Regions from separate parts of the Homo sapiens genome. Here all the other regions are linked to region 3. The links are contacts of gene promoters, found by promoter capture Hi-C in blood cells and fetal thymus (Javierre and others, 2016). All regions are on one chromosome and are shown on one strand. The core of a region is centred on a gene start or on the middle of the fragment in contact, and the rest is flanking DNA. Distances in the headings are between cores, read along the strand shown. Region 1 overlaps ATF2 (activating transcription factor 2). Region 2 has its middle 61 kb from the start of CHN1. Region 3 holds the start of CHRNA1 (cholinergic receptor nicotinic alpha 1 subunit). Region 4 has its middle 39 kb from the start of CHN1. Region 5 overlaps ATF2 (activating transcription factor 2).

Region 1 (4,142 bases), core at 233-2,732, 350 kb after region 3:
CTCCAGCCTGGGTGAGAGAGCGAGACTCCATCTCAAAAAATAAATAAATAAATAAATTCAGCTCTGCAATATGTTTTAGCATGTAAAAATTTGTATTTAGTATAGTGCCTAGCAAATAACTGAAGCAAATAGAAGGTGTCTAATAACTACTAATCTATTGATTTCCTAAGGATACATTAATTAATTGCTGTTGTTAGCCCTATTATGATATAGAACGTTAACATCTACCCAATTAATCGATGTTATTAATTAACTGACATTATTGTATTATAACACAGCAAGGAGAATTACACTGATTTTTATTTTATTTTATTTTATTTTTGAGATGGAGTTTCACTCTGTCACCCAGGCTGGAGTGCAATAGTGCGATGCTGGCTCACTGCAACCTCGGCCTCCCGGGTTCAAGCAAATTCTTGTGCCTCAGCCACCCGAGTAGCTAGGATTACAGGCATGCACCACCACGCTCGGCTAATTTTTGTATTTTTAGTAGAGATGGGGTTTCACCATGTTGGCCAGGTTGCTCTCGAACTCCTGACCTTAGGTGATCTGCTCACCTCAGCCTCCCAAAGTGCTTGGGATTACAGGTGTGAGCCACTGCGCCCGGCCCTGATTTTCTTTAAAAATAGAATCGTCAGATCTTCTACTAAGAAAATTAGAACGTTTATAGGATTTAGGGTTAAGAAGTACCCCAGAAACCAAAGCTTAATCTTTTTATTTTACAGATGAGGAAATGCAATCTCAGGAAAGTTACAGTTGCTTAATTAAAGGTAGTGAATAGTGGAGTTAGGATTAAAATTAAAATTAAAATACACATCTAAACATTAATTTAATAGCATCCAAACAGCACAACAGAAAAAAATGGTTTTATCATGTTTGCTAACTTGTACACTATTTCAGAATTCTTTTTAATACTGTTAAAACCACTCATCATTATTAGCAGCACTGCCTTCAGATGATCACATCTAGTTTCAGATGTAATACTCCTATTTTCCACTAGGAGGAGAAAAAGCCACAAGAAAAAGCCAGACAAACAACAAGTGACAAGAAACAGAACTTCTAATCTGCCACTAATTTTAAAGTATCACTAACTACTCACTATGCTAAAGGAAGATTTCTTTTTTCAAATTTTGTGGTTTATCTATAGTATAAAACAGTCCGTAACTTTATAAAAATGTGATCTAAATTGTGCATTTGAAGCAGGCTTTAGTGAAAACATTAATTCAAAACAGCCTCAAGCAATGTACAGAACAAATAAAATCTGGCTTACCATTTTTGCTTCTGACTGTACTGGTTGGGGAGAGGAAGGACCTGGGATTCCTGGAACACTAGGCACCATGGTGACTGGTCGAACGAGCTATGCATGACATAAGGAAAAATAATTGCTAGAGAATATATTCAAAATGAGATTTGTACTTTACTGCTGTTGTAATAATTTGAGACTTTAAGAATCAGAACATTGTAAATTTATCACCAGCTGATTTTATCTCTATACCAAATCCTTATTTGGTCTTATATCCTGACTTATCCTTCAAAAGTTGTCAATTTCTGAGACGTGTGCTTTCCTAATTTTCAGTTTCTACAATTTCTTTCTTAATGGTCCCTGTTAGAAATTCATAATATTCAAAGTGATTAATGCAAAAATTCTCAAAGATCTGTCAAACTTCCATTTTGAATATGAAAGGAAGAATGTCAAAACTTGTGACACTTAGGCATAAAAAATAATTTCAACAATGAATTTTGCTTTTCTAAAAATATATACAATGAATTTTCTTATACATACCACATAATAACAAATAACACACTGTAATAATTTCTGAAATAATCTGTAACAGGTTTTACCATTTTGGTTTTTTCCTTTTTTTTCTTAAACCTAACACTGAGTGAACACAGTTACTGTATAAATAAAGCATATCTTTTCTTTCATTTCCGGTTGCTTTCATCACTAGGTACATGTAACAGGATAATCAGAATCTCAAAAACAAGGCAAGAATGTTTCCCTCCTCAAAAAAATATTCTCAGTAAAGAGGAAGCAGATACCTTATATCTGAGTCCTTACAAAGTCTCTCAAATAATGCATTTTGAACAAAGTTCTTTTTAAAGAAGGCACATTATCTTGAAATTACGTCAATCAATGCTAATTTTGGATAGTTTGAAAGATCACGTGGAAGAATTAGTTAATTAAAAAAAGATATAAATATCAAACATTAATCCTAGTAATATTCTTGGGGGTAATCTCACCGAAAGTGTTGGAATGTTACTATAAGTAAGCTTTTAAAAATAAGTTTTATTTTTTATTATTTTTGAGACAAGGTCTTACTTTGTTGCCCAGCCTGGAATGCAGTGGTGCAATCTCGGCTAACTACAGTCTCAACCTCCAGGCTCAAGTGATCCTCCCACCTCAGCCTTCTGAGTAGCTGAGACTACAGGTGCTTCCATCACAACTGGCTAATTTGTGTTTATTTTTTGTAGAGATGGGGTTTTGCCATGTTGCCCAGCCTGGTCTTGAACTCCTGGACTTAGGCAAGCCACCCACCCTGGTCTCCCAAAGTGCTGGGATTACAGGCATGAGCCACTGCACTTGGCCTAAAAATAATTTTTAAAAGCTACACTGTAAATGATTACACTGTACTGATCAGTAACAAGCATCTTAGAAGGTAAAAGAAAAAACTATCTTTTTATTACATAAATAAGTACCTAATGCTTGGTGTAAGATTTCCAGGGAGAGAATAATAGAGAGATTCATAAAGTAATATCGTAAATGATTTAGATGAAAAAGAAAATACTGTGTTCTGGAAACTGTGCTAGATGTCTCAAAAAGTGGTTCTCAGGATGAAAATTTGAATGTCAAAGACATAACTGAAGAGTTTGTTTGAATAAAACTGTTTTATGTAATGTAAGTAAGAAAAAAGCAATTTTCTAACACACATTATTCCAAACAATGTGTTTTTAAATGTTCATTAAACTATTACTTTTTTTTTTTTTTTGACTTGGGGTCTTGCCCTGTCATCCAGGCAGGATCCATAGCTCACTGCAGTCTCAAACGCCTGGGCTCACACAATCCTCCTACCTCAGCCGCCCAATACGCTGGGATTACAACAGGCATGAGTTGCCATGCCTGGCCAAACTATTAAATATCATAAGTAGATAGTTAACTATTTTGTCTACGTCTTTCAAAATTTATATATTTAACACACCCCTCAAAAAACTTTTTTGCGGGGTCTTTTCACAGGGAAAGTGAAAGATTATTTTTCTAGAACATTTACATTTTAACATGCTGGGCTATCAAAGATTCTACAAACCCTACTTGACCACAAAAATTCAGAGTGTGTCTTTATAAACAATTTCCATACTAATAGAAATACCACAGAGTTACCTGACAAGTATTCTAGTACAAATATCTTTCTAAAATTTGAAATCTGTGTTAATATTTGAATGCTACAAGTCCAGTCAAATTGATATGGGTTGAATAAGAAGATCTCAGTATAAAAAAAAAATTAAGGTTTTGGGGAGAAGAGAAAAAATAGCTATACCTTGAATGGTATATGCTATTACAATGATAACAAATAAATACTATCAACTGCTAATCAATATTATGTTAAATTCAATTTCATAAGCCAGTCAAGCAGCCAACTTTATTTTCTGACTACAAAGATCAGTTTTGCGATAGAGATTTAAATAGTCTAACTTTCTTACTGGGACTGCAGCTGGAACATGCACATTAGAACTTGTAATTGATGCAGGAATAGCAACAGGCATGGTTTGTCCATTAGGAAGATGTAACAGAAGAGGAAATGGGCCTGGTACAGGGCTAAGAAAAACAAAAGAAGAGAAATTTTAAAAAAGAGATTCATACCAACTGTCTCTTAAAAATACAATAGTATTTTTACTCCTATAATCATATCATTTAAAAATACATTTTCTAACCACAGCAAAGCAAATAGCAAAATTTAATTATTTTTAATTGCATCTTAAATGCATAACCTGTGTAGCAGTATTGAAAAGAAGAGAAAAGTTATGGATTTACTTAGGACAATCTCCAATTTGTAAAATGAGAAAAACTGTCATCAGAGAGCTCTTGGGAGCTACCAGTAAGAACTGAAAGAAATGGAATCTGGTGATGCAGTAATTTTATATTTTGTGTG
Region 2 (4,093 bases), core at 444-2,943, 300 kb after region 3:
TTAAGATAATGGCATTGGCCGGGAGTGGTGGTTCAAGCCTGTAATCCCAGCATTTTATCACTTGAGGTCAGGAGTTCGAGACCAGCCTGGCCAACATAGTGAAACCCCATCTCTACTAAAAATACAAAAATTAGCCAGGTATGGTGGTGCACGCCTGTAATCCCAGCTACTCAGGAGGCTAAGGCAGGAGTATTGCTTGAACCCGGGAGGTGGAGGTTGCAGTGAGCTGAGATCATGTCCAGCCTGGGTAAAGGAGTGAGACTCTGTCACAAAAGAAAAAAGATAATGGCATTCACAAATTTTCTCATTTCCTCATAAACATCATATAATGTATTTGCTTCATGAGAAACTCCTAATAGACAATGCTACCATCTTAAATTCTGCTAAATAAATAACATTAAAAATTTGGGGAGTAGGGGCAGGGCAAGATGGCAGACTAGAAATCTCCACTGATTATCCCCACAGCAAGGGCACCAATTTAACAACTGTCTACACACACACAAAATAAAACACCTTCATAAAAACCAAAAATTAGAAAACAAAACTGACCCAAACTCAGCTGATGCCCGCCCACGAAGGGAGCATTGAAAGCAGCCCTAGCCAGAGGAATCGCCGATCCCAGTGGCCTGAACTTAAGTTCCCAAAAGCCTCACCACCGCAGAGTGAAGTGCTCTGGGGCTCCAGATAACACTTGAAAGGCAGTCTAGGCCACAAGGAATGCAACTCCTAGGCCAATCTTAGTGCTGAACTGGGCCCAGAGACAATGAACAGCAGGGAACACAACCTACTGAGACACAGCCAGGGTGACTGTGTGAGTGCTGGCATCATCCCTTCCCTAACCCCAGGTTGCTCAAAGCTCCAAAACAACCCCATTTCCTCCACTTAAGGAGAGGAGAGGGAAGAGTGGGTAAGACTTTGCCTTGCGTCTTGGATCCCAGCTCAGCTACAGCTAGATAGGGTATTGGTCAGAATCATGAGGCCCCGTTTCCAGGCCCTAGCCCCCAGATACATTTCTAGACATACTCTGGACCAGAAGGGAACATGCTTCCATGAAAGGAAGGACCCAGTCCTGGCAGAATCCTACTAACTGAAGAGCCTTTGGGCCCTGAATAACCAGCAGCGATACTCAGGTACTATGTTGAGGGCCTTCAGTGAGCCTCTTGAAACTTGCTGGCTTCAGGCAAGTACAGCACATTCCCAGCTGTGGTGGCTATGGGGTTATGGGGTGAGATTCCTTCCACTTGAGAAAGTGGATGGAAAAGCAAAGGGGGGGTTTGTCTTCCACCTTAGATACCAGCTCAGCCATAGTGGGGTAGAGCACCAAGTAGGGTCTTGGGGTCCCCAATTCCAGGACGTGGCTCTTGGATGGCATTTCTGGACCTGCCTCAGCCAGAGGGGAGCCCACTGCCCTGAAGGGTGAGTCCCAGGGAAGGCAGCATTCATCACAATCTCACCTAAGAGCCCTTGGCCCTTAAGGGAACATTGGTGGCAGTCTTGAGGTACTCCCTGTGGGCCTGTGGTGGCAATGGCCACTTGGTGAGGCTCTTTTGCCTTTGGAATGGGTAGGGAAGAGTGTGAAGGACTGTGTCTTATGGTTTGAGTGCCAGTTGAGCCACAATACAATAGAACACCAGTCTTGGCAGGTAGACTTCTAACAGTTTTGACTCCAGTCCCTGGCTCCTGGATGGCACCTCTGGACAAGCCCAGGGCCTGGGTGAACTAACTTGCTACCCTGAAGAGAAGGACAGAGGCCTGAATAGCTTTGCCACCTGCTGATTTTAGAGCTCCAGGGCCTTGAGCAAACATAGGTCATAGCCAATGAGAGGTTATAGAAAGGTTGGGTGAGACCTGGTGCTGTGCTAGATTCAGATCTGACCCAGTGCAGTCCTAGTGTTTGTGGCCACAGGAGTGCTTGTGTCACACCACCCCCAGTTCCATATGGCTCAGAACAGAGAGAATGACTCCGTTCACGTAGGAAAAATTAAGAAAACAACAGTCTCCACCTGGTAATCCAGAGAGGTCTTCTGGATCTCATCCAAGAGCATTAAGGCAGTACCTCTACAAGTCTGCAAGAACCACAGCATTACTGGGCTTGGGGTGCCCCCTAAAACAGGTACAGCTTAGATCACAACACTCGAGTCCTTTCAAATATCTTGAAAGTGTTCCCAAAAAGGACAAACAAGCCCAGACTGAGTGTCTACAATAAATACCTAACTCTAAAATGCCCAGACGCTGAAGAACATCTACATGCATCAACGCCATCCAGGAAAACATGACCTCACCAAATGAACTAAAAAAGGCAATAGGGAGCAATCCTGGAGAAACAAAGATATTCTCTGACCTTTCAGAGAATTCAAAATAGCCATGCTTGAGGAAATGCAAAGAAATTCAAGATAACACAGAAAAGGAATTCAGAATTCTATCAGATACATTTAACAAAGAGATTAAAATGATTAAACAGAAACAAGCAGAAATGCTGGAGCTGAAAAATGCAATTGGCATACTGAAGAACACGAGTCTTTTAATAGCAGAAATGATCAAGCAGAAGAAAGAATTAGTGAGCTTAATTTGAAAATACAGAGAGGAGAAAAAAGAAGAAAGATAAAAAACCAATGAGGAATGCCTACAGGATCTAGAAAACAGCCTCAATAGGGCAAATCTAAGAGTTATTGTCCTTATAGAGGAGGTAGAGACAGAGATAGGGGTAGAAAGTTTATTCAGCAGGATAACAGAGAATTTCCTAAACCTGAATAAAAATATCAATATACAAGTAAAAAGATTGAAGCTGTAATAAAGTCTCCCAGTAAAGAAATGCCCAGGGCCTGATGGCTTCACTGTTGAATTCTACCAAATGTTCAAAGAAGAACTAATACCAATCCTACTCAAACTATTCCAAAAAATAGAGAAGGAAATACTTCTAAACTCATTCTATGAGGCCAGTATTACCCTGATACCAAAACTAGACACACATACAACATAAAAAGAAAACTACCAGCCAATATGTCTGATGAATATTGATGCAAAAATCCTCAACAAAATAATAGCAAACCAAATTCAGTAATGTATTAAAAGATCATTCAACATGACCAAGTGGGATTTATTCCTGGGGTGCAAGCATGGTTTAACATATGCAAATCAATCAATGTGATGCATCACATGGACAGAATGAAGGATAAAAACCATATGATCATTTCAATTGATGATGAAAAAGCATTTGATAAAATTCAACATCCCTTCATGATAATAACCCTCAAACAACTGGGTATAGAAGGAACATACTTCAACATAATAAAAGCCATATATGAAAGACCCACAGCCAGTATCATACAGAATGGGGGAAAGCTGAAAGCCTTTTCTCTGAGATCTGGAACATGACAAGGATGCCCACTGTCAACACTGTTATTTAACATAGGACTGGAAGTCCTAGCTAGAGTAATCAGACAAGAAATAAAGAGCATCCAAATTTGAAAGGCAGAAGTCAAATTATCTTTGTCTGCAGATGCTATGATCTTATATTTAATAAAACCTAAAGACTACACCAGAAAATTATTAGGACTGATAAATTTAGTAAAATTGCAGGACACAACATCAACATATAAGAATCAGTAGCATTTCTATATGCCAGCAGTGATGAACAATCTGAAAAGGAAATAAAAAATGTAATACCACTTACAATAACCACAAATAAATACCTAGGAATTAATTTAAGATGTGAAAGATTGCGATATTGAAAACTATCACATGCTGATGCAAGAAATTGAAAAGGACACCAACAAATGGAAAGATATTCTATATTCATAGACTGGAAGAACCAATATTGTTAAAATGTTCATACTACCCAAAGTGATCTACAGATTCAACGCAATCCCTATCAAAATACCAATCACATTCTTCACAGAAATAGAAAAACAATCCTTAAACGTACATGGAAGCACAAAAGACCCAAAATAGCCAAAGCTTTCCTAAGCAAAAAGAACAAAACTTGAGGAATCATATTACCTGACTTCAAATTATACCATAGAGCTATAGTAGTCCAAATAGCATGGTACTGGCATAAAAAGGCACATAGACCAATGGAATATAATAGTGAACC
Region 3 (3,754 bases), core at 1,039-3,538:
TGGTTCACTGGTATTCTTTTCTTTTTTCCTCCCCAGCACAGGGTAGAGTGATAGAAAACTCACAGGGCTCAAAGTCAGAACTCTATGATTCTCTTCCCAACTCCCATATGGCCTGGAGAGTTGGATTAGTTCTTCATGGATTCAACGAATCACAGTAAATACTTTTGTAAAAAGGTAGGGTGTAAATAAACAAATATGCAAATAAAAAATTAAATAATGTCAAATTCCCCTTTTTAGCAAGATTATATTTGTAATCTTTATTCAGATGATGGTAACATTAATTTATTCATGAAATATTTGTTGAGCATTTACTGTAAGCAAAGCATTGTTTTGGGAGCTTCGAGATATTCAAAACTGAATCCTTCTTCCTACCCTCATGGAGATTGACATTTGTCATTTACGTAAATAACTGTGAACAAGTTGGAAAGTGATATGCCGTAAGAAAGACGGCAATGAAGTGCTTGAGATTCCAGAGGCAAAGAAAAGAAAAAGTTGAAATGAAAAGTGCTGTATAAATAGAACAGAGATCACGCTGTGTTAAGCTAACACAGGAAAAGAGTCCCTGATATAAATGACAATTTTGTCTACAAAGGACTGATTCTAAGAAGGGAAACTCAACCACAGTTTCAAAGTGTTCCTTTTGTACCACACTGGTTCCATTTGTATTTGTATGTAGGAAATAGCTCCCTGGGCTGGGCAAAAGAAATTTTGAACTGTTACTAGTCCCATGGATCATTATTATCTTAACCTGATTCTGTATCTCTTGCTACCTTTGGCTAGTTCAGGCTGTGTTTTCTGACTGTGCATGTAATAAACCAAGTCTCCAACTGACCACATTCCAAAATGTATAAATTAAGTGACCTTGGGCAGGTCAGCTTTAGTTTCCTTGTAATAAAAAATTGAGGATGTTGGACTGCCTGATCTAGCTCTAAATTTCTATAAAACACCCATGGAAATCAATGCCAGCAAACTCGAGATTTGACCTAAATACATATCACATACTTCTTTAATAGCTAATCATGCATTTTTGGTTAGCAATAACCAAAATCCTAAGAGATCTCTTAAGGATGTTTACATTAAAGCATATCATTTAAGAATTTTCCTGTGACTGTGGTTTTGCGTGCACGCATGTGTGTGCACGCGCGCGCACACACACACACACACACACACACACATCAGGCCAGCTTTGGCTGGACAGAGTCCAAATCCCACATGATATAATTTATCTGAGTTTAGGCTCTTTCACTCAACTCTGATATTGAAAAAAATTAATAATAAAGCTTTTTGCCTCTTGACCAGAAGGCCTGTGTTTTTCAGAGCAATATTGGAAATGAAAAATCACAGGATGTCAGCCACCTTGTTTCTCAGTTGGGATGATATCACCAGTAAACTTTTATGTGAAGCAATCAGCAAACATCTCCTGTTTCCCTCTAGCGGAAGTCTGGGATTCAGGATGGTGTTTCAGCTGCTGTGTTAGGACACATTCCAGAGTAGAATGCAGGTCAAATGCTGTGCAAGGTTTTATAGTTTCAATTCAAACCCAAACCTATATATAGTAACATCTTAAAAAAAAAAAGTAGGTAGGAATGTATTCATATGGAATTTTTTTTAACTTCAGAAATTTTGAAAAAATTAAAAAATATTTGTCTCTGTGGAGAGAGTTTAGTTATGATTATTAACTGGTTTCTATCTCCAGCACATGTAGCTGTCAATCAGTCCTCTTTATTATTAGAATTCTCCTGGAGCAGTAAAGGGACTTGTTAACTCCATTGTATGTGATTATAAGGCACTGTTCTAAGTATCCATAGTTGTTTAAATATGAACCCCCGGACACTACCATGATCCACAAGTGGTCCAGGTCCTACAAATGGTGCCGAGTGTTCAGAGGGATGAGTCGGCTGCCAGGCATGATGGAGGGAGAGACATGCGTGTCTATCTTGAAGTCTTTGACCAGGCAGTTTCTATTTTAATTAGATAAGGCAAACTAAAAATCTTTATCCAAAAACTCAATCAAGCTAACATCAGGAAGAAACTGACAGAGCAGCCCCTGGTTGGGGAGGCTCTGCCATTCTGTGGTCTCATCAAAGAAGCAAGACTTTGATTTGGGGGCCTCCAGCACTTTAGCCTCAAAGGAGAGCCCTCTCCCCACCCCTGACCCCAGCACTTACCTGAGCAAAGGCTAAAGAGCAGGAGGAGAGGCCAGGGCTCCATGGGCTACCGGAGCTTGTGTGGACCAGGGCAGAGTGGTGGCCTGTGCTTCTCACTGGCACTCTGGCTGGGTGCTTGTCTGCTGGAGGGTTTGGAAAGCGAGTCGGCTCACTAGAGCTATTGTTTTACACCACCTGTTTGTGGGAGCGACAGCTGGGCTGCCCTCAGCCCTGGAGCCCAGGGAGTTACTGGGACTGTACACCATTACAGATATGCCTCACTTTACACAATTGCTTACCCTTGACAAGCTGAGTATGAACTGCATTATATTTTAAATGCACCAGTAGTCAGATCTTAATGAAAAAAAAATGTATAGGAAGGAAGGAATTATTTTAAATGGTGAGCAAACTGCCTCTCTTTTGTGTAAACCAGAACCTCATCTCTGTGGGTTGACTTGATTAGGGTCATTTGGTCTGAGTAGATAGTCAGCTGTTTGTCCTAAACCACAAAAATCCACATTCTGCAAACATGGCTTCAGTTTCATTTCCTCTGCTTCAGTGTTAGGCTGAGGGTGCCGGGGGCTTTTCTGACTGCCTGGATTTCAGAAAAGTGTAGCTGGTGTTGAGTCTGCTGCTGGGAAGCCCCCACGTTGATTGGGTTTGGTTTTTAACAAAGACAGCTTCTTCCATAAAACTGGCTTTACTGGCCCCCAGAGTGGCTGTTCCAACCCCTGCCTCTGTATCAGGCAATACCTATCCCACACGAACCATTAGCTGGAGCAAATTGCCCACGTCCTATGCACTGTGATTCAAGCGAAGAGTAATTATTGGGAAAAAGTGTCCCACCGCATCAGCAGTCGTTCCGGGTTCCTGCCTCCTTCCATCCGTCCCTCTGCCTACTCTCACTCAGGGAAGCAAAGAGCAGAGTGGTTCAGCTTTTCAATTATCTTGCTTGAAAAACATCCTAAAAACCAGCAGTTAGTAATTTCTCAGTCTGAGAAGTATTGTTACCCTAGCTGTGCTTCTTTGCAGGGTGTGAGGTGAGTTCCCAGAAGGAGACAGTTACTTAAAGGTACCCTGCCTGTTCCTTCCAGGCCTCCTTCCCACATGGAACTAGGTGAGAAAGGTCCTCTCACCTCAAGCCCACAACAACATCCTGACAGATCCTCTCATTCCAGTGGATCCAAACAAATCATTAGAGAAGGGGCTTGGAGGGTAGAGGAGAGAGCTGCAAGCTCATACTATTTATATTTTTTGTTTAAACTGTGGGAGATCAGTTAACTGTTTGCTAAAAAAAAATTTGGTTCTCTCCCTTCCATGGAATAGCCCCGTGGCAGAAATACAACCCCCACCCTCTGACCAGCCCCTTCCATCTAAATGGAGCCATGGGACTGACCTCTGGCCAGTGGCATGAGTGGAAAAATGTTCTCAGACTCACAAACCTACCAGAGCTCAGCCCCGCCCTTCTAGTCTTCTGACCGGCTAGAATGGACATGGTCCCAAAGTTAACCTTAGAAACCATGTTCTGAAGGTGGTGTTGCTTTTGACATTCTGAATCCTTGAATGACTGCATGGAGGGGGACCCCCTATCCACCTGCTCACCACCC
Region 4 (4,046 bases), core at 1,228-3,727, 280 kb after region 3:
GTCTTCCACAATGGTTGAACTAACTTACATTCCCACCAACAGTGCAAAAGTGTTCCTATTTCTCTACATCCTCTCCAGCATCTGTTGTTTCCTGACTTTTTAATAATCACCATTCTGACTGCCATAAGATGATATCTCACTGTTTGATATGTTTGTTGGCTGTGTAAATGTCTTCTTTTAAGAAGTCTCTATTCATATCCTTTGCCCACTTTCTGATGGGGTTGTTTTTTTCTTGTGAATATGTTTAAGTTCCTTGTAAATTCTGGATATTAGACCTTTGTCAGATTGGTAGATTGCAAAAATTTTCTCCCATTCTGTAGGTTGCCTGTTCACTCTGATGATAGCTTTTTTTGCTGTGCAGAAGCTCTTTAGTTTAATTGGATCCCATTTGTCAATTTTGGCTTTTGTTGCAGTTGCTTTTGGCGTTTTTGTCATGAAGGCTTTGCCCATGCCTATGTCCTGAATGGTATTGCCTAGGATTTTTTTCTAGGATTTTTACGGTTTTGGGTTTTACATTTAAACCTTTAATCCATCTTGAGTTAATTTTTGCATAAGGTGTAAGGAAGGGGTCCAGTTTCAGTTTTCTGCATATGGTTAGCCAGTTTTCCCAGTATCATATACTGAATAGGAGATCCTTTCCCCATTGCTTGTTTTTGTAAGGTTTGTTGAAGATCAGATGGTTGTAGATGTGTGGTGTTACTTCTGAAGTCTCTGTTCTGCTCTGTTGGTCTACATATCTGTTTTGGTACCAGTACCATCCTGGTTTGGTTACTGTTGTCCTGTAGTATAGTTTGAAGTCAGATAGTGTGATGCCCCCAGCTTTGTTCTTTTTGCTTAGGATTGTCTTGGCTATATGGGGTCTTCTTTGATTCCATATAAAATTTAAAATAGTTTTTTTTTAATTCTGCGAAGAATGTCAATGGTTTGATGGAAATGGCATTGAATCCATAAATTACCTTGGGCAATATGGTCGTTTTCATGATATTGATTCTTCCTATCCATGAGGATGGAATCTTTTTCCATTTGTTTGTGTTCTCTCTTATTTCCTTGATCAGTGGTTTGTAGTTCTCCTTGAAGAGGTCCTTCACATCCCTTGTTAGCTGTATTCCTAGGTATTTTATTCTCTTTGTAGCGATTGTGAATGGAAGTTCATTCATGATTTGGCTCTCTGCTTGCCTATTGTTGGTGTAAAGGAATGCTTGTGATTTTTGCACATTGATTTTGTATCCTGAGACTTTGCTGAAGTTGCTTGTCAGTTCAAGGAGTTTTGGGGCTGAGATGATGGGGTTTTCTAAATATAAAATCATGTCATCTGCAAACAGAGACAACTTAACTTCCTCTTTTCCTATTTGAATACTCTTTATGTTGTTCTCTTGCCTGATTGCCCAGGCCAGCGCTTCCAATACTACGTTGAATAGGAGTGGTAAGAGAGGGCATCCTTGTCTTGTACCAGTTTTCAAAGGGAATGCTTCCAGCTTTTACCCATTCAATATGATATTGGCTGTGGGTTTGTCATAAATATCTTATTATTTTGAGATATGTTCCATCTAGTTTATTGAGCGTTTTTAACATGAAGCGATGTTGAATTTTATCAAAGACCTTTTCTGCATCTATTGAGATAATCAAGTGGTTTGTATCTTTGGTTCTGTTTATGTGATAATTACATTTATTGATTTGCATATGTTGAACCAGCCTTGCATCCCAGGGATGAAGCCAACCTGACTGTGGCGGATACATTTTTTGATATGCTACTGGATTCAGTTTGCCAGTATGTTATTAAGGATTTCTGAATCGCTGTTCATCAGCTATTTTGGCCTGAAGTTTTCCTTTTTTTTGTTGTGCCTCTGCCAGGTTTTGTATCAGGATGATGCTGGCTTTATAAAATGAGTTACAGAGGAGTCCCTCCTTTTCAGTTGTTTGGAATGGTTTCAGAAGGAATGGTACCAGCTCCTCTTTGTATTTATGGTAGAATTCAACCATGAATCAGTCTGGTCCTGGACTTTTTTTTGGTTGGTAGGTTATTAATTACTGCCTCAATTTCAGAACTTGTTATTGGTCTATTCAGCATTCAACTTCTTCCTGGTTTAGTCTTGGGAGTGTGTATGTGTCCAGAAATTTATCCATATCTTCTAGATTTTCTAATTTATTTGCACAGAGGTGTTTATAGTATTCTCTGATGGTAGTTTATATTTCTGTGGGGTCAGTGGTTATATCTCCTTTATCATTTTTCATTGTGTCTATTTGATTCTTCTTTTTTTATTAGTCTAGCTAGTGGTTCATCAATTTTGTTGATTTTTTCAAAAAACCAGCTCCTGGATTCATTAACCTTTTGGAAAGTATTTCATGTCTCTATCTCCTTCAGTTCTTCTCGGATCTTAGTTATTTCTTGTCTTCTGCTAGCTTTTGGATTAGTTCGTTCTTGCCTCTCTAGCTCTTTTAATTGTGACATTAGGGTGGTATTTTGAGATTTTTCTAGGTTTCTGATGTAGGCATTTAGTGCTACAAATTTCCCTCTTCTTCTTCCTCCCCTCCCCTCCTCCTTTCTCTCCTCCCATCTCTGGTAACCACTGTTCTACTCTCTGTTTCTATAATATCAATTTTTTTGTTTTAGATTCCACGTGAGTGAGATCACACAGTATTTATCTTTCTATGTCTGGTTTATTTCATTTAACATTGTGTCCTGGTTCATTCATGTTGTCATAAATAACAGTATTTCACTCTTTTTTATGACTGACTAGTATTGTCATATCACATTTTCTTTATCCATTCATCAATGGACAGTTAGGTTGATTCTATGTCTTGACTATTGTGAATAGTGCTGCAACAAGCATGGCAGTGGAGCTATCTCTTCGACATACTGGTTTCATTTCCTTTGGATATATACCCAGTAGTGGGATTGCTGAATCACATGGTCATTCTATTTCTAAATTTTTGAGGAACCCCCATACTGTTTTTTATAATGGCTATACTAGTTTACAATCCCATAAATAATGTGTATGTGTTCCCTTTTTTCCATATCTTTGCCAATACTTGTTTTGTCTTTTTGATAATAGCCATTCTAACTGGGGTGAGGTGGTATCTAATTGTGGATTTTATTTATTAATACATTTCCCTGATTATTAGTGCAGTTGTGCGAACACAGTTCACTCAACCTCATGGGCTCAGGTGATCCTCCCACTTCAGCCTCCTGAGTAGCTGAAACTACAGGTGCATGCCACCACACCCAGCTAGTTTTTGTATTTTTAGTAGAGATGGGGTTTTGCCTTGTGCCCAAGCTGGTCTTGAACAATTGAGCTCAAGCAATCTGCCCACTGTGGCCTCCCAAAGTGCTGGGATTACAGGCATGAGCCACCACACTTGGCCTGTCCCTTCACTGTGTTAATATCTCCCTTTGCTGTGCAAAATCTTTATAGTTTGATGTAATCCCATTTGTCTTTTTTTTGTTTTTTGTTTTTTGTTTTTTTTTGAGATGGAGTCTCACTCTTTCACCCAGGCTGGAGTGCAGTGGTGCAATCTCGGCTCACCACAACCTTCCCTTCGTGGGTTCAAGTGATTCTCCCGCCTCGGCCTCCCGAATAGCTGGGACTACAGGTGCATGTCACCATGCTCGGCTAATGTTGGTATTTTTACTAGAGATGGGGTTTTGCCATGTTGGCCAGGCTTGTCTCAAACTACTGGCCTCAAGTGATATGCCTGCCTCGGCCTCCCAAAGTGCTGGGATTACAGGCATGAGCCACTGCGCCTGGCTGTGAATAATCTTTTTAATGTGCTGTGGATTTGGTTTGCTAATAACTTGTTGAAAATTTTTATGTCAGTGTTCATCAGGGATATTGGTCCATAGTTTTTTATTTTGTTATGTCCTGGTCTAGTTTTGGAAACAGGGTAATTAGAGTAATGTTGGCCTTGTAAAATGAGTTCTCCTCCTCTCCCATTTTCTGGAATAGTTTGAAGAAATGGTATTAGTTCTTCTTTAAATGTTTGGTAGAATTCAGCAGTGAAGCCACTAGGTCCTGGGCTTTTCTTTGATGGGAGGCTTTTTATTACTG
Region 5 (3,780 bases), core at 838-3,337, 360 kb after region 3:
ACTTTCAAGATTCAATTTTCCTCACTGGTTGCTACTTCTTAATCTTCTGTGCTACATTCTCCTCCTCTTTCTGACTTTTAAACACCAGAGGTGCCCTAAAGCTTAGCTTTCACCCTTCCATCTATACTATTGTGATACAGAAGTAAAACTAAGCAAATATGGGAATTATGGATAAGACAAAATGTAAGTATTACAAACCTCGACAATGGAAAAAATAAGAGTAATTATCAGACATTAGGGGATAGGGAAGTGGAGGTAGAAAGTATGCATGTTAACTCCTTTAATAGTAGGAAACCTAAAAAAATAATTCCCTAACTTCTTAATGTTTTTCACATATATAGTTAATGTTACAGAGGTCTTTTAACAATTCCTTATGATACACATACACACACAAATTCTAATGTTCAGCAATCAGTTTTTCTTCTGTTTAATTGTAATGCTTTTATTTAAAATGGCATGTGTATTAGTAAGAATTCAATCACAAAACCCATTCTAACTATTTTAAGCAGAAGAGAATCAGGAAAGGGCTTTTTTGAGTCTCCAAGAATGATATCTAGAACATGTCAAAACTAGTCTTTGTCCAAAGGCTGGCCCTAGAAACACATATTGCATTAGCTGTACTTCAGGGATTACAGAATCAAGTTGTTTGTTCACTCCAAGCCAGCAAAATGGATGATTTGAGTAATACTATCTCTCATTCCATTTAACTCAGTACCAAATCCAAAAAGTAAAGTGGGTCAGGCGAAGTGGCTCATGTCTACAATCTCAGCACACTGGGAGGCCAAGGTAGGCAGATGGCTTGAGCCCAGGAGTTTGAGAACAGCCTGGACAACATTGAGAGATCCTGTATCCAAAAAAAAAAACCAAGCAAAAAATTAGTCAGGTGTGGTGGTGAGCACCTGTGGTCCCAGCTACTCTGGAGGCTGAGGTGGGAGGATCACCTGAGCCCAGGAGGTTGAGGCTTCAGTGTGTCATGATCATGCTACTGCACTCCAGCCCGGGTGACAGAGTGAGACCCTGTCTCGAGAAAAAAAAAAAAAAAAGTTAAAGTAAATCTGATTTACCAGAAAGAGTAAATTTGGTTGGTGAAACCTAAAATCATATGCAGAATTCTAGGTGCAAAGAGAACTGTAGTTTTTAGCTCTCTTAACTTTACAGAAAAATATATATGTCAAATATATCTCCAAAACATATGTCAAATTAGCCTATTTCTCTCTCTGTGTCCACTGTTAACACCTAATTCAAACCACCATCATCTCTCACCTGGACTGCTGTCAGCCTCTTGTCTCCCTGTGACCACTCAGCAGTGGCTTTTCACTGCTCAGTGAATAAAACCCAAACACCTTATCATAGGATATGTCTTTTTTTCTGTCTCCTCTGACCTCCTCTCTTAACCTTCTCTCTGTTGGTCATTATATGCTCCAGCCACAGTAGTTGCGTTTCTGTTCTTAAACACACCATACACATTCCCTCCCTAGAGCTTTTACATTTGCTGCTCCTTTAGTCTAGAAACATACAAGGTTTGCTCCTGCATTTTCTTCAGGTCTTTGTTCAAATGTCACCTTAGCAGAGGCACATTCCCTGGTTAACCTATCTAAAATTGCATTAACCCTGATAACTCCTATGTTTACCTCGCTCTACATCATTAAATATCACATAAATCAAAATTACAATGAGATACCATTAAACCCTCACCAGAATGACTAAAACTTAAGAGACTAACCAAAAATATCTTGAAAAATGAGGACTAAATTGGAGAATTTACCCTAACTGACTGGAACACTAACTGTAAAGCTAGAGTAATCAAAATGGTGTGGTACTAGCATAAAAGTTGACAGAGTGATGAATGGAACAGAATATAATGCCCAGAAACAGACCCACACTTACACAATCATTTGATTTTCATTAAAGGAGCCAAAGCAGTTTAATGAGGAAAGAAAAATCTTTTCAGGAAATTATGCTGGGATATCTAAACCCGTATTTTTTAAAAACTTAGCTTCAACTGGCTGGGCGCGGTGGCTCACGCCTATCATCTCAGCACTTTGGGAGGCCGAGGCAGGCGGATCACCTGAGATCAGGAGTTCAAGACCAGCCTGACCAACATGAAGAAACCCCATCTCTACTAAAAATACAAAATTAGCCAGGTGTGGTGGCGCATGCCTGTAATCCAAGCTACTTGGGAGGCTAAGGCAGGAGAATCACTTTAACCTGGGAGGCGGAGATTGTGGTGAGCCGAGATTGTGCCATTGCACTCCTGCCTAGGCAACAAGAGCGAAATTCCGTCTCAAAAAAAAAAAAAAAGTTAGCTTCAACCCCTATCTCACACCATACACAAAAATTAATTCAAGATTAAAGAGAAATCTAAATGAAACAGTAAGTTTTAGAGGAAAACAAAGGAGAATACCTTCATAATCTAAAGGCAAGCAAAAATTTCTGACAAGTCACAGAAAGCAACAACCATAAGAGGAAAAAAATTAATACATTAGGATTCATTAAAATTAGAAACATCTGCTCATCAAAAGATATTATTACGAAAATTAAGATGCAAACCACAGAAAAAGAAGCCTCTGACAAGGACTGGTATCCAGGATATATAAAGAACTCCTACAACTCAATAATAAAAAGACAACCCAATTTTTTAAAATGAGCAAAAGATTTAAAAAGATACTTCACAAAATGTAAGGGATACAAATGGCCAACAAACACATGAAAAAAGCAGCCTGGTAATTTCCTAAAAAGTCAAACATATATCTATCAGATAATCCCATCATTATACTCCCATGTATTCCTCCAAGAGAAATGAAAGCATGTGTCCATAAAAAGACTTGTACACAAGTATTCACATCAGCTTTATTAACAACTAAAAAATAGAAGTAAACCAATATCCATCAGATGAACAGATAAATTGTGAGATAATGAAATATTATATCTCAATGAAAAGGAATTAACTATTGGTAACATAACATGGAGAAATATTGAATTATGTGGAGTGAAAAAACATACATACTATATGATTCCATTTATACAAAATTCTGGAAAATGCAAACAAATCTACAGTAACAGAAGGCAGACCAGTAATTGATGAAGGTAGGTGGGATAAGAGGAATTATAAATAGGCATGAGGAAACTTTTGGGTGATTGTATGTTTACTATCCTGATTGTGCTGATGGTTTTGAGTATACGTGTGTTAAAACTTATCAAATGGTACATTTTAAGTATATACAGTTTATTGTAAGTCAATTATATTTCAATTTAAAATATCAACTAAAGAAAATAAATGAGAAAGAATAATGCTTACTTACATTTATGGTCCGTATATTTAAGTACTTTGTAACTTTGCTATACATTACATTTATTCTTTAATTCTTCCTGTCTATAGTTATTTTAAGATAAGTATAATAGGAATAGATTAATAATTTAGTGGGTTGTTAAAAAAAAACTAAAATATTACTTTCTGAAACTGCTGCCACATGCCCAATATTAAAGACGTTAGGCTTAACAACATTAATACATTAGTGATACTCTAAGAAGTAAATACCAGTTAATTTCATAAAAGTTCAGTAAGCAAAATAATTCTCATATAATATCGATCTGATTTCTAATTAGGCAGTTTATCAATAATTTTCAACCAATAACAGTCAAATTATACTTTTATATCTTGGACTTTTGTGTAGGATTTCCACCTTTCCATTACAAGATATAATGCTCCCCCCCTCCGTATTGGATTATACTTTCTAAAGCTCAGTTGCACTATTGAAGAAAAAGCAGAATTTCTTGCCA

Evidence for each region. Contacts are between HindIII fragments. The CHiCAGO score rates a contact against its expected background, and 5 or more counts as called.
Region 1: a fragment that was not itself captured here is called in contact with the fragment with the promoter of CHRNA1 in region 3 in 5 of 17 cell types (naive CD8 T cells, naive CD4 T cells, total CD8 T cells and 2 more); the score reaches 8.0 in naive CD8 T cells.
Region 2: a fragment that was not itself captured here is called in contact with the fragment with the promoter of CHRNA1 in region 3 in 2 of 17 cell types (M1 macrophages and naive CD4 T cells); the score reaches 5.8 in M1 macrophages.
Region 4: a fragment that was not itself captured here is called in contact with the fragment with the promoter of CHRNA1 in region 3 in 1 of 17 cell types (naive CD8 T cells); the score reaches 7.4 in naive CD8 T cells.
Region 5: a fragment that was not itself captured here is called in contact with the fragment with the promoter of CHRNA1 in region 3 in 1 of 17 cell types (total CD4 T cells); the score reaches 5.1 in total CD4 T cells.

Annotation. Positions count from the first base shown.
Region 1 is chr2:175,110,301-175,114,442 of GRCh38, forward strand. It overlaps ATF2 (activating transcription factor 2), which reads right to left. Exons shown (of 14, transcript NM_001880.4): 9 at 3,694-3,808; 10 at 1,268-1,354. Among named protein-coding and RNA genes, the nearest start is that of MIR933, 55 kb to the right of the region's middle. The HindIII fragment of the contact is 1,567 bases long and covers 700-2,266 here.
Region 2 is chr2:175,064,292-175,068,384 of GRCh38, forward strand. No RefSeq gene overlaps it. Among named protein-coding and RNA genes, the nearest start is that of CHN1, 61 kb to the left of the region's middle. RefSeq lists a silencer at 1,166-1,398. The HindIII fragment of the contact is 4,524 bases long and covers 1-3,955 here.
Region 3 is chr2:174,762,184-174,765,937 of GRCh38, forward strand. CHRNA1 (cholinergic receptor nicotinic alpha 1 subunit) reads right to left here and starts at 2,289. Exons shown (of 9, transcript NM_000079.4): 1 at 2,169-2,289. The coding sequence starts at 2,211. RefSeq lists an enhancer at 2,290-2,789. The HindIII fragment of the contact is 3,214 bases long and covers 1,279-3,754 here.
Region 4 is chr2:175,042,664-175,046,709 of GRCh38, forward strand. No RefSeq gene overlaps it. Among named protein-coding and RNA genes, the nearest start is that of CHN1, 39 kb to the left of the region's middle. The HindIII fragment of the contact is 6,585 bases long and covers 1-4,046 here.
Region 5 is chr2:175,126,215-175,129,994 of GRCh38, forward strand. All of the region lies in intron 4 of ATF2 (activating transcription factor 2), which reads right to left. Among named protein-coding and RNA genes, the nearest start is that of MIR933, 40 kb to the right of the region's middle. The HindIII fragment of the contact is 3,977 bases long and covers 100-3,780 here.